3 separate regions of the Homo sapiens genome follow, and all the other regions are linked to region 2. Evidence: promoter capture Hi-C in 16 types of primary human blood cells and fetal thymus (Javierre and others, 2016). All regions are on one chromosome and are shown on one strand. Each heading gives the region's core, a stretch centred on a gene start or on the middle of the fragment in contact. The rest is flanking DNA. Distances are from core to core; before and after follow the strand shown. Region 1 overlaps CUL2 (cullin 2). Region 2 holds the start of PARD3 (par-3 family cell polarity regulator). Region 3 overlaps LOC124902409 (a long non-coding RNA gene).

Evidence for each region. Contacts are between HindIII fragments. The CHiCAGO score rates a contact against its expected background, and 5 or more counts as called.
Region 1: a fragment that was not itself captured here is called in contact with the fragment with the promoter of PARD3 in region 2 in 1 of 17 cell types (megakaryocytes); the score reaches 5.4 in megakaryocytes.
Region 3: a contact is called between a fragment that was not itself captured here and the fragment with the promoter of PARD3 in region 2, in 1 of 17 cell types (fetal thymus). The highest score is 5.6, in fetal thymus.

Annotation. Positions count from the first base shown.
Region 1 is chr10:35,025,118-35,028,832 of GRCh38, forward strand. CUL2 (cullin 2) reads right to left here. Exons shown (of 21, transcript NM_003591.4): 16 at 3,693-3,715; 17 at 15-81. Among named protein-coding and RNA genes, the nearest start is that of MIR3611, 53 kb to the right of the region's middle. The HindIII fragment of the contact is 836 bases long and covers 833-1,668 here.
Region 2 is chr10:34,813,481-34,817,443 of GRCh38, forward strand. It overlaps PARD3 (par-3 family cell polarity regulator), which reads right to left and starts at 1,816. Exons shown (of 25, transcript NM_001184785.2): 1 at 1,396-1,816. The coding sequence starts at 1,515. PARD3-DT (PARD3 divergent transcript) reads left to right here and starts at 2,288. Exons shown (of 2, transcript NR_108043.1): 1 at 2,288-2,321; 2 at 2,640-2,942. RefSeq lists silencers at 1,055-1,334, 1,855-2,024, 2,115-2,164. The HindIII fragment of the contact is 5,100 bases long and covers 190-3,963 here.
Region 3 is chr10:34,992,841-34,996,706 of GRCh38, forward strand. LOC124902409 (a long non-coding RNA gene) reads right to left here. Exons shown (of 2, transcript XR_007062110.1): 2 at 772-1,522. Among named protein-coding and RNA genes, the nearest start is that of LINC02635, 22 kb to the left of the region's middle. The HindIII fragment of the contact is 236 bases long and covers 1,143-1,378 here.

The DNA.
Region 1 (3,715 bases), core at 1-2,500, 210 kb after region 2:
TAAATGCATTTTACCTGTACACAGATAATGTAACCATGTAAGTTTCCTTCCACTGAAATGTTGGCTATAAAATAATTCAAACTGTAAAAAAAAAAAAAAAACACACATTATTTTTAGCTACTATAACTTGCCTAGTTAATTAACACAATACTACAAAAGCAATGAAAACCATTCATATTAGAAGAGACATTAAAGCCCATCTGGTTTACCTCCTTCTTTTACAGAGGAGAAAGCACGTTCCTGTGGTCCCTAATCAAGGCTATACACATATATTCCAGCTCTTTTAATTGACAACTTGTTCTAGAGTTCTCTCCACTAAACCACAGCACTGCAAATTTGACTTTCTGTATGACACAGTGATTCATTATCATTTCTGAATAATACTAACATGGACTTTATAAATTCTACTAACCAAACACAGCAACATATATATTTCACCATGAAAAGAGAAACCCTACCTTCATCTCTAATCTCCCATTTGCCAACATATAGCTTCCACATTCAATTAGACACAAATACGAAGTTTTAGGGTATATCTCTGGATTATTCTTTTGCTGATATTATTGTGAACAATTAAATTTAAATTCTATTAATGTAGCCTTCAAATTTTAAACATTCCTCCCTGGACTGAATGTGTAATTACAGAACAAAAATACAGAGTTCTTTTTTCTTTAATAAAGAGCTAGTATACAATAAAAAGTGGAAAAATGATACTGGATGTGAAAAAGATAAAAACTCAATTTCTTTATAAAACTAAAAAATAAACTGCATTATGCCAGTTCAGAATTCTGAATAAACTTTTAGCATGATGTACCATATATAACATACTTAAAGCTTTTATTTGTATATCAAACTTTACCTTTTGTACTTTAAAAAGGAAGTTCACATAAAGCAGTCAGCAATGACTGACCTATCAGCTATATTATGACCACTCCTTAACAGCAAAAGTTAATAGCTCCAGCCAAGAAAATGAGTCAATTCCTTCAGCAGTTACTCTAAGTTTGCCTAGTCCTGGGAAGCTGAAATATGTTGAGCCTATTTTCCCTCTAATGGTGCAGCATCCTCCTCTACCAGCAGATCCACCAATCCCTTTGCAGGATGAACAGGAGATGACTAGCACCTGGAATACTTCAGATTGCCTGCTTAGTTCTAATCCAGACAAACAGCAAATTGAAATATGTCATAAGAGGATTTCAGAAGTATGATCTGACTAACTAATAACTCCCAGGGATATCAATAAAATTCAATCACTACTATATAATTCACAATTTATAACACATTTACAATGAATCTGGACAAAAGCAAAATAAAAGTTAAAAAAACTTTCATTTTTTTCTCAAAACACTTTCGGAAATGAGAAATTCCAGCTTTAAAATGCTCATAATTTAAAGTGCAAAGCTGGCTTTAAAAGGTATATTCCAAGCTCTAAAAACATGTTTTACCTCTTCAGTAGTACTATTTGGTAAAGTTTTATTGACGATAATATCAATATGCCAAAAGAAGATACTGATTCATCCTTACATTTAAAATCTGACTACAAAGACTCTCGTATCTATAGCTAGTCAAGAACAAACAGACTCCAATAAATTCATCAATTCATATGGCACTACAAAGACCAAAGTTATAAAACCTTCCTTGATTATATCATTAAAATAATTGTGTTAGCAAAGCTTATTAGTAAAAAATATATGTTGACTAAACTTATTTTATTTTTTTAAATTTTATTATTATTATACTTTAAGTTTTAGGGTACATGTGCACAATGTGCAGGTTAGTTACATATGCATACATGTGCCATGCTGGTGTGCTGCACCCACTAACTCGTCATTTAGCATTAGGTATATCTCCTAATGCTATCCCTCCCCCCTCCTCCCAGACTAAACTTATTTTAAAATAAACAGGATAAAAAACAGCATTTTTCAAACACTGTTTAAGGGCATTAATTAGATCTCAAAGAGCCTTAAAAATTCAATGAGTTTATTTACCTTTAATAGATAGCTACATTAATATACACTACTTTAGATACTTTTTTTTTTTTTTTTTTTGAGGCGGAGTCTCGCTCTATCACCCAGGCTAAAGTGCAGTGGCGCAAACTCGGCTCACTGCAACCTCCACCTCCTGGGTTCAACCGATTCTCTTGCCTCAGCCTCCAGAGTAGCTGGGACTACAGGTGCATGCCACCATGCCCGGCTAATTTTTTCTATTTTTAGTAGAGACGGGGTTTCACTGTGTTAGCCAGGATGGTCTCAATCTCCTGACCTCATGATCCGCCCGCCTCGGCCTCCCAAGGTGCTGGGATTACAGGCGTGAGCCACCGCGCCCGGCAACTTTAGATACTTCTAATATTATTCAGGTTTTTGGCCTAGGTAAAAAAGAAATGTAACAATTAAGATTGACTGGCCTAAAGTATAAAATAAATTACTTTTAATTACAGCTTTAATTCCACAGTTTTGAGATACTTTGGTGTAAAATAAAGGTAATTCTTGATAGTTATATTTAAGATTAAGATGTAAAAAATGCAAATCATCACTAAGGCAGGATGGATTAATTTACATGAGAAAACTGTACACTATTAAGTATACAAATGGATTTCAATCCTATGTATCTGAAAACTTGGACTTACTAGAAAAAAAATAAAGGACAAACTCCCTCTACTGGTAATTGGAGACAATTCAAATGGAGAGAATAGTATTTTTGGAATCAGAATTTTACAGACAGAAACTCACTTCCTATTTGTAAATGGGGAAACTAAAACCTGAGGAAGACTATACATCAACAAATAAAGTTTAAAGAGTTAAAAACTATAAATAGAAAATAATTATTTCAAGGAAAGAGGAAAGAAAAAACTAAAGGAAAACTTCATTTCTGCCAGCTCCTATTCTCTCCCTTAATTTCAATCAGGGACACATGATATTTAAAAAGAAATGTAAAAGACTGCCAAGGCCAGGCATGGTGGCTCATGCCTGAAATCCCAGCACTTTGGGATGTATCCTTTCTGCAAAATTTGTAATAACCTTGGATTATAGTCTGCCCCATCCAATGAATGTCTGCACAAATGCTCTTCTTCACATAGTTTCTAAAATAGTCTGTGCTACAATCTCTTTTCAAAGAAGATGTAAGAAGTCCTAATTTAGCCTCCTATTCTGAAAGTCTATCATGCTTGCCTTCCTGAAACCTACCTGACTGGTTACAGGACTCTCCTCTATTAGTTATTACCACGAAACTAATAACCACTATCAATCACTGTTACTACTTACTCTACTAGCAGTTACTTCACATATATTTACCTACATTACAGGACAGAAATAAAAATATTACAAGGGCTGAATGAGGTATTTGGTCAAAATTCAAAAGGAAAACTGGTAAGTGATATTTTAGGTGTTGAATTCTAAGCTTTCTTCTGATATCAACATTTTTATAATTTAAAACTGCTTAATAGCAGATGATAGACTTACTCAGAATAAGAGACATGCTTTGACAAAGAACTGTATGACATTCTTCTTAGCATTTTAGTATCAATATTAGTAACTACAATAACTTACATTCTTCCTAAAGGGCAGACTGACTATAATTTCTGAATCTATTTTTATCACATGAACCCTTAAGACTCTGAAAAAATATTAAAGGTGATATAATATGAAGACAATTATTAAAATTCCTTTAGTCTTCTAATATATTTCCTGCAAACTTACCATCTGTACACTTTTTTCTAATT
Region 2 (3,963 bases), core at 566-3,065:
CCCAATTCCCACTAATTTTATTTGATTTTCAATAAAAGAGTTCAACTGTAAGGAACATAACAGAGCTACTAAAGCCAACGTCTTCCATCCTTGTGTCGGGTCTCCAAACGTCCCCCAAAATTATCTTTAAAAGGCCAAATTTATGCTATTTTTTCCAATATATACTAAAAGCAAAACAAAAGTCTAAAAAGCTTTTACTTCTTAATTTCTGAGAGAACTGAAGATGCCACCGGAGTACCCTGTGTACGCTCAATAGGGCTGACCAAGCCACTTTCCAACGTCATTTGCAGCCCCCAAGCCCACAGGGGCCAGGCCACTGTCGGGAACAAATGGGAAATACTGCACCCAAACGAATGCGCTCCCCACCAAAGAGGACTCTACTACAAAGGAAATATATCCCCGGGTGCTTGGGAGAAACTTCAGCGTGGGCTGTTGTCAAACACAGACACAGTCGGTAAAACAATTTAACAAAACGCCTTTTCACTTCTGACACACAGTAGAGGAATGCTGTGAAGTGGAGACAATGTTATCAGTCCACCAGGAAAAAGGGAAATCCACTCAACTCCCAAGTCAGGCCCGGCCCCGCAGCCCAGCCACATGGAACCAGCCCGGGATAGGTAGGAGCTGAGGTCCTCGCAGGAAAACTTTTCATTCCGCGACTCTTCCAAGGTTGTGCTTTCCAGAGCCCAGCAAGTGGGATCAGCTCAGTAAATGCTCGCAAGCGAGTGCCAAGTGCCAGCGGTGGCCCTCCCGGGAACGCCTCCCCGACCCCAAGCCGGCGACTCCCCAAACCCTGCAGCCCCCGGACGCGACGGGCCGCCCCTGCCGGCCCCTACCAGCAGGGGACATGGAGGAAAAGCCCCCCGCCGCTGTTCCGCCCCCGCCCGAGTAAGGGAGAGGAGGCAGAAGGCTCGCAACCCGCCTCTGTCGGAAGGGCAGTCACGAAACTCTCCTCACACCAAAAGTTCCCAGTCCCCGGCCTGTGCCCCCGGGGCCTGGGAGCCGGGAAAGGCCTGGGGCTGGATTTCCCGGCCTGCGCCCCCCGCGCGCTGGCTCGGGGCTTGGCTGGGTCTGCAGACTCCGGGGAGGCGCCCAGGGCCGGCCTATGCGCCGCTGCCCGGCTCGCCCCGCGCTACCGAGGCCGGAGCTCCCGGGCGGAGGGTGAGGGCGGGGGCCGCGGGACCCGGCTGGGTGTCCCAGAGGCTGCGCCCCGGCCCGCGCAGAGAACTTTGGCGCCCGCAGTCCGGGGCGGGGGGCGCCCGCGAGGCCCGACCGGCCGCACTTTCCCTTTCCCCGCCTCCCTGCGCCTCTCCTCCCCCTTCCAGGAAGCGCCATATTGATCCCGGCGCCGTCCCCGCCGCCGCCCCCTCCCCGCCCGCGCCCCCGGCCCCTCACCTTGGCGATGGCCTTCCGGTAGCGGGTCACCGCCTGCTGGATGAGGCTGAAAACTTTCATGTGGCCGTCCCCGCACGGCACGACCACCCGGGTCCGTCCGAAGCACACGGTCACTTTCATGCCGCCGCCGCCGCGGGCGGGCCCGCGCCCCTCGCCGAGCGCAGCCGGAGCAGCCGAGGCCGGGACCGAGGACGCTGGGCGCGGAGGAGCCGCTGGGGACTCGGGCGCGCGGGCGGCTAGGGGCGCGGGCAGGCGGCGGCGACGCCGGGGGGCCGCTCAGCTCGCATGCCCGGCCCGGCCGCCCTCGCCTCGCCTCGCTTCGCCCGGGGCTTGCCTCGCCTCTCCCCGCCGCGGCGCCCGCAGCCTCCGGCCACCTGTTCGGCGTCGCGGCGCGCTCGCCGGCGGCTGCCCGGGGCTGTGTGGCGCTGGCGCTCGCTCGGGGCCGCTGGGGGAGGGGACGGCGGGAGGGGAGGGGAGGGGAGGGGAGGGGAGGGGGAGGAGCAGGGCAGGGCACACAACACCGCGCACATGCGGCAGGGGGAGGCGCGGCCGGCTACCCGCGCGGGGCGGAGCGCAGGACCGCAGCTCGCGCCCCCGCCACCGCCCTCGGGGGCCGACCTCCTTCCCTCCTTCCCTCCCTCCCTCCCTCCCTCCGGGGGCGCGGGACCCCTCGCCCCAGTGCCAGCACGGGCAGGCGGCCGTCTGCCCCCACCAGCCCTGGCCCAGGCGCCCCCCAGCCCCCTTCACCCCGCCCGCCCAGCACCCTGCAGGGCTGCGTCGCCCCTCCTCGGGGACGCCCCTTCCACGCCTCCAGAAGTCTCCACGGAGCCCCCCTTCCCCTTTCTTTGTCACTTTTAATCCCATTCCTCGAACTGGAGGGTTTTGGGTGCAGGCGCTCCCGGGGAAAGCAGTTTGTGCTCAGTGCGGTGAGTCCCCTCCTCACCGCCCCGGAGGCTCCAGCCCGAGCCTCTCCGCCCGCGGGGACTCGAGCCTGCAGCTTGCTCGGCTGGGTTTCTGCCCTGCCCGCTCCCTAGCTCTGCTGCAGGGCCGGCAGCGGCAGTTCTGCCTGAAACGCAAGAATTAATAGTCTGCTCTGGGGAGACAGTGGGGAAGCCGTGAGCGACCGGGCCTTTTCCAGAGGCCACTATTTACCTTGAAGTTTCCTGTTGACCCTCTGCTGACCCACCCGCTTAAATAGATTAGAACTTAAACATCGCAATTCTGATACATTTATTTCTTTGAAGTTCTGCAGCATAAGGAATCCTAACGCGAATCCGTGAACAGTCTATTCCGACGGCGCAGAGAAATCTCACGCGGGGATCCCCACGATGTGCCGGCGCTTAACGCAGACGCCCGAACCCAGGGGAAGGCTGCGACTCCGCGATGAGTGACATGCGGGCTTGAGACGTTCTAAAGGAACGTGGACCGAGTTAGGGAACGTAACTGAAGCTCATTTTGTCTTAGTTATGGACTATGAGTCCTTAATAAATGTATGTCATTATGTTTAAAGAATGACAAATGTCTGCAAAGAGTGGTCCCTGTCCCAAGCCCTTTCCAGACTATGTGAAATTCTTTTTTGCCAGTTGTTTCCAAGACACGTGAAAGCAATCAAGCTCCCCTGGGTTGGCGCAGAACTTGAGCACTTAAGAGCTGGAAGAGCTGGCGATCGACCATCCATCCCACTCCACCTCCAATCTTAAAACAAGGAAACAAGACACGAGGTTCGTCCGCTTGCCACACTCCCTGCGCTTTGCAGCACCGCAGCTGCCCCAGCATAGTGCAGTTTCTCCTAGGAAACATTGCCCTTCCTCTCCTCTCCCAGCCCTGGACCACCACTTTCCACCACCTGTCCCAGCAAATCAGTGCAGTGGTGTTAGCCCCATCTTACTCCAGGACATTGACCCAGGGCCAAAGTCACTTGCCCAAGGCGGCAGAGAAAGCTCAAGGCAGACCCAGAAATAGTCTAGGTTTCCCTCCTTCCACTCAGCCATGGGAAAGGCTCCTCCTACTGCTGTTTGGCTGCAGCACTAGACATTTCTAGCCAGTAATTAAGTTTGTGACAACGATGACAACAACTGTTGATGTGGGTTTTTTGCTTCTTACATAGATACTTGGATCCACAACAACAATTACTGATAATTATAGGTGTTGTTTCTGTTTTCATGCATTGGGAGAGTATACTACTAGTTTAGAATGTATACTACTTTATTTTATTTTGTGTTTTTTACATTTATTTATGTATTTATTTTTATTTATTTATTTATTTATTTATTTTGAGACCAAGTCTCGCTCTGTTGCGCAGGCTGGAGCGCAGTGGCGTGATTTCGGCTCAGTGCAACCTCCGCCTTCTGGATTCAAATGATTCTCCTGCCTCCGCCTCCCGAGTAGCTGGGATTATAGGTGCCCGCCACCACGCCCAGCTAATTATTGTATTTTCAGTTAGAGACAGGGTCTCACCATGCTGGCCAGGCTGGTCAATCCGCCCGCCTCAGCCTCCCAAAGTGCTGGGATTGCAGCGTGAGCCACCGCGCGGCAGAGAATGTATACTAGTTTTGATGCTACACTAGT
Region 3 (3,866 bases), core at 11-2,510, 180 kb after region 2:
GTTTTGAGATTTTTCTCTCACTGAATCTCCTGGGCCACTAATTTAGCCTGCAACTATCCTCTTCTTCAGTCATCAACTGAAATTTAAAATGAAAAACTCGTGTTTCTTATTTCTTTTTCTTTTTCTTTTTTTTGAGACAGTCTCGCTCTGTCGCCCAGGCTGGAGTGCAGTGGCACGATCTCGGCTCACTGCAACCTCCGCCTCCTGGGTTCAAGTGATTCTCCCGCCTCAGCCTCCTGAGTAGCTGGGACTACAGGCACGTGCCACCACGCCCGGCTAATTTTTTGTACTTTTAGTAGAAATGGGGTTTCACCATGTTGGCCAGGATGGTCTCGATCTCCTCACCTCATGATCTGCCCACCTGGGCCTCCCAAAGTGCTGGGATTACAGGCATGACCTACCGAGCCGGGCCTTGTTTCTTATTTCCACAAAGTATTTTATGCTGTAATAGAATCTCTTCTATTTTGGCTGGGCACAGTGGCTCACAACTGTAATCCCAGCACTTTGGGAGGCTGAGGGAGGTGGATCACTTGAGGTCAGGAGTTCGAGACCAGCCTGGCCAACATGGTGAAATCATCTCTACTAAAAATACAAAAATTAGCTGGGCGTGATGGCAAGTGCCTGTAGTCTCGGCTACTAGGGAGGCTGAGGTGGGAGAATTGCTTGAACCCGGGAGGAGGAGGTTGCAGTGAGCCAAGATCGCACCACTGCACTCCAGGCCTGGGCAACAGAGTGAGATTCCATCTCAAAAAAAAAAAAAAAAAAAAAGAATCTCTTCTATTTTATTTTATTTAAGTATATAAATTTAAGGGGTACAAGTGCAGTTTTGTTACATGGATATATCTTGTAGTGGGGAAATCTAGGTTTTTAGTGTAACCATCACCCAAGTATTCAATTTTACCTTCTTGTTCCTTTTTGGTCCAAGTTATTGAATGCCTTCATAGATTCCTGCTTTTCCTTGGGCCGGTTCCTTTTAGATGGGCCAGTTCCCTTCCTTAGCTCACTCATGAGTCTATTTATCATTGGGGTCCAGACCCAGCTAACAGGATACTTTTGCAATCTCTCAAGTAGTACAAGGTCTAGGATTGGCTTCCTCTATGGTAGGTGACATGCCAGCTGGCAGGTTGAAAGGGGATCTGGGAAGCTTTACTGTCCCTGCTGTCCTCAATGGCAAAAGCTAGATCTGTGCAGCCTCAGGCCTGTGGGACACCATCTTTTCACCCTTGAAGCTCTCTCCTTAGGAGATCAGCAGTGCATAGATTTTCTCCAGCCCAGCTCTCCAGAGAAAGGGAGCTCTGGTCATTGCTCTGGGCTTCTTACTGCTGGTCCCACCCCCAGCCTGCTTCAGTCATTCCTGTTGGTTGAACAGGAGGCACCAAGCTTCACCTGCCTGATGGCCACAGCTTTAGCTGCACTCAGGAAGGGGAGTTAAGCTGGTGGTTGAAATAGATGTAGGAAGAGAAACTTGCCATTGTGTCTCATTGGTTTAGGGATGCAGAACCATGGCAACTTCCATGAAAGGCTGCAGAGAGAAAATGAGAAATATTTAGAGCAGTAATTTTTTATTGCTGCCTGTAGAGTCTGAATCAATGGGAAGGCAAATATTATTTATCAAACACTTAAAATAGTATGTCAGGCATGGCGCTAGGAACTTCAGATAAGTTATCTCATACAATCTTCACAACACTATAGTTTTTGTTCGTTAAGAGATGGAAGGAGCTTGCTCGGGGTCACCTTGGCAAGCTATTCAATGGACTAGAATGATTCATCTTCCAAATGTCTACAGTTCCCCATTGAGCTGGAGAGAGAGGGCAGCCTCCCTAACGAGCCAGCTCTACAGCTTCAGCTCCCAAAGCTTGCAGAGTACCAGTTGCCATGACAACAGGACAAAATGCAGAGACCCTAGCTGCTGGGAGGAAATGACATGAGCCAAAAGAGTAAAAACTCACCCCGGTACTGGAATGTATGAGTCACTTACAAAGAACACCTGTAATTTTGAGAGCTTAAACCACCAGAGGGAGACAGAGATTGCCACAGGCGGGGGAATCTGTCTGTATTCCAAATGCTGCTGCCTCCCAGCGCTCCCGCCTTTTCCCCACACTAAGGGCCTCTGCCCAGTCTCCCAGGCTGACCCTTCCTCTTTCAGAGCTCCTCAAACTATCTCCTCCCAACTGGAGCTCAGGACTTGGGACCTGGCCCCTTGAGGGTGACAGAAAGGTGACTTGCATCTTCTGGGGGAAAAAGCAGAGGCATTCAGAAACGAGAGCCCTTCCAGAAAACCAGTTTGCACAATGACCAGGAACTCTGACACCTTAAGCCCATGCGAATCTTGAATAGAGAAATCTTGGACACTGAGGTAAGGGTGGTGCTCGGAAAGTGTCTTGGTCCAGATTTTTCCAGACCCTTTGATTCACAGTGGCATAGATGCTGGCAACCTGCTTGCTAATCGCCCAAGCGATTCCAGCCTGGTGTCAGGGAGGAAGATGCCCTCCGTCCTCTTTCATCTGGAAAAAGCAGGGTAGCATGTGTTAACTCTTACATATCAAATTCCTCTAGGAATTCTGGGGATTCCTTTTATTTGGCTCAGAGAGGAAACACCTAGAACATTTATACTCTAACCCAGAGAACTGAGGTGGTTTCCTGGGTATTTCTGATGTGCATTAAGAAAGAAGCTATTTCATTTAAGCCAAAACATAAGTGGGGGCTGGATTCAAAAGCAGACTCTCCCCTTAAAACAGCTTCTTCCTTTGCTTCTAGTCATTAGGGACAAGTCATGAGCCTCTTAAGCAGTAAGCATGTGAACAATTTGTCTGGTTCTAACAAGTGGTCCTTCCAGCAGGACTTCAGGGAGCAGAAGTGTATGCACTGCTGCAGAAAATGAGTTAGAAACTATCACAAAGGAGGAATGTTGGGCTTGCAGGGAAAAAATTATGAATAATTACCATATAGCAGGGGAATTACATGTCTTTCCTGCTGCTCGAGAACTAGACTAGAACCAAAGGGTGGTCCTGGGCATGAGGCATGAGGAGAACTAGGTAGGGAAAAGGTCTGTGGAGAAGTAGTAGAACCAGAGAATGGAAACAAACAAACAAACAAACAATGCAGATAGAGTCTGATTCTAGCCAGGGCTTCTAGGCAGCTCAAAGCCTAGTGTCAGAGGATGTAATAAACTCAGCACCATTTGGGGCAATCACTGGGACCAGGCACTCCACTCCAGCAGGCAGGGCAAGGGATGCTAGGAAGCTTTCCAAAGATCGTTCCTCAAAGGACCGTCACAGCTGGTGGTGGGGAATGTGGAGGGCAGAAGGCAAAAAAGAGAATGCATGGTACCAGCATTCCATCACCAGGACAAGGCCCCCAGTATTGGCAGGAAGCTAGGTCACTGAACAGAAACTAAGGGGCTAGGTTCAGTGGCTCAAACCTGTGGTTAAAAAAAAAAAATTAAAATTTGACTTTAGTCAAATTAAATTTAAAGGTGTTTAATTGAGCAAAGAATGACTGGCAAATTGGGCCATCTCCTGAGCCAGAGTAGGCTCAGAGACTCCAGCGCAGCCACGTGGTAGAAGATTTAAGGGCAGAAAAAGGAAGGTGACATACAGAAAATGGAAGAGAGGTGCAAAAACAGCTGGATTGGTTATAGCTTGGCATTTGCCTTATTAGAATATGGTTGGAACAGTTGACCACATTTGATTGGCCAAAACTTGGTGATTGGCACAAGAGTAGGCTACAGTCTGTTTACAATTTCCTTTAGCTTATAGTCCACAATGTACAGAGAAACCTTTAGGTAGAACTTAAAATATGTAAGGAGGTAGCTTTAGGCTAAATTTGATTTAATACTTATAATCCCAGCATGTTAGGAAGCTGAG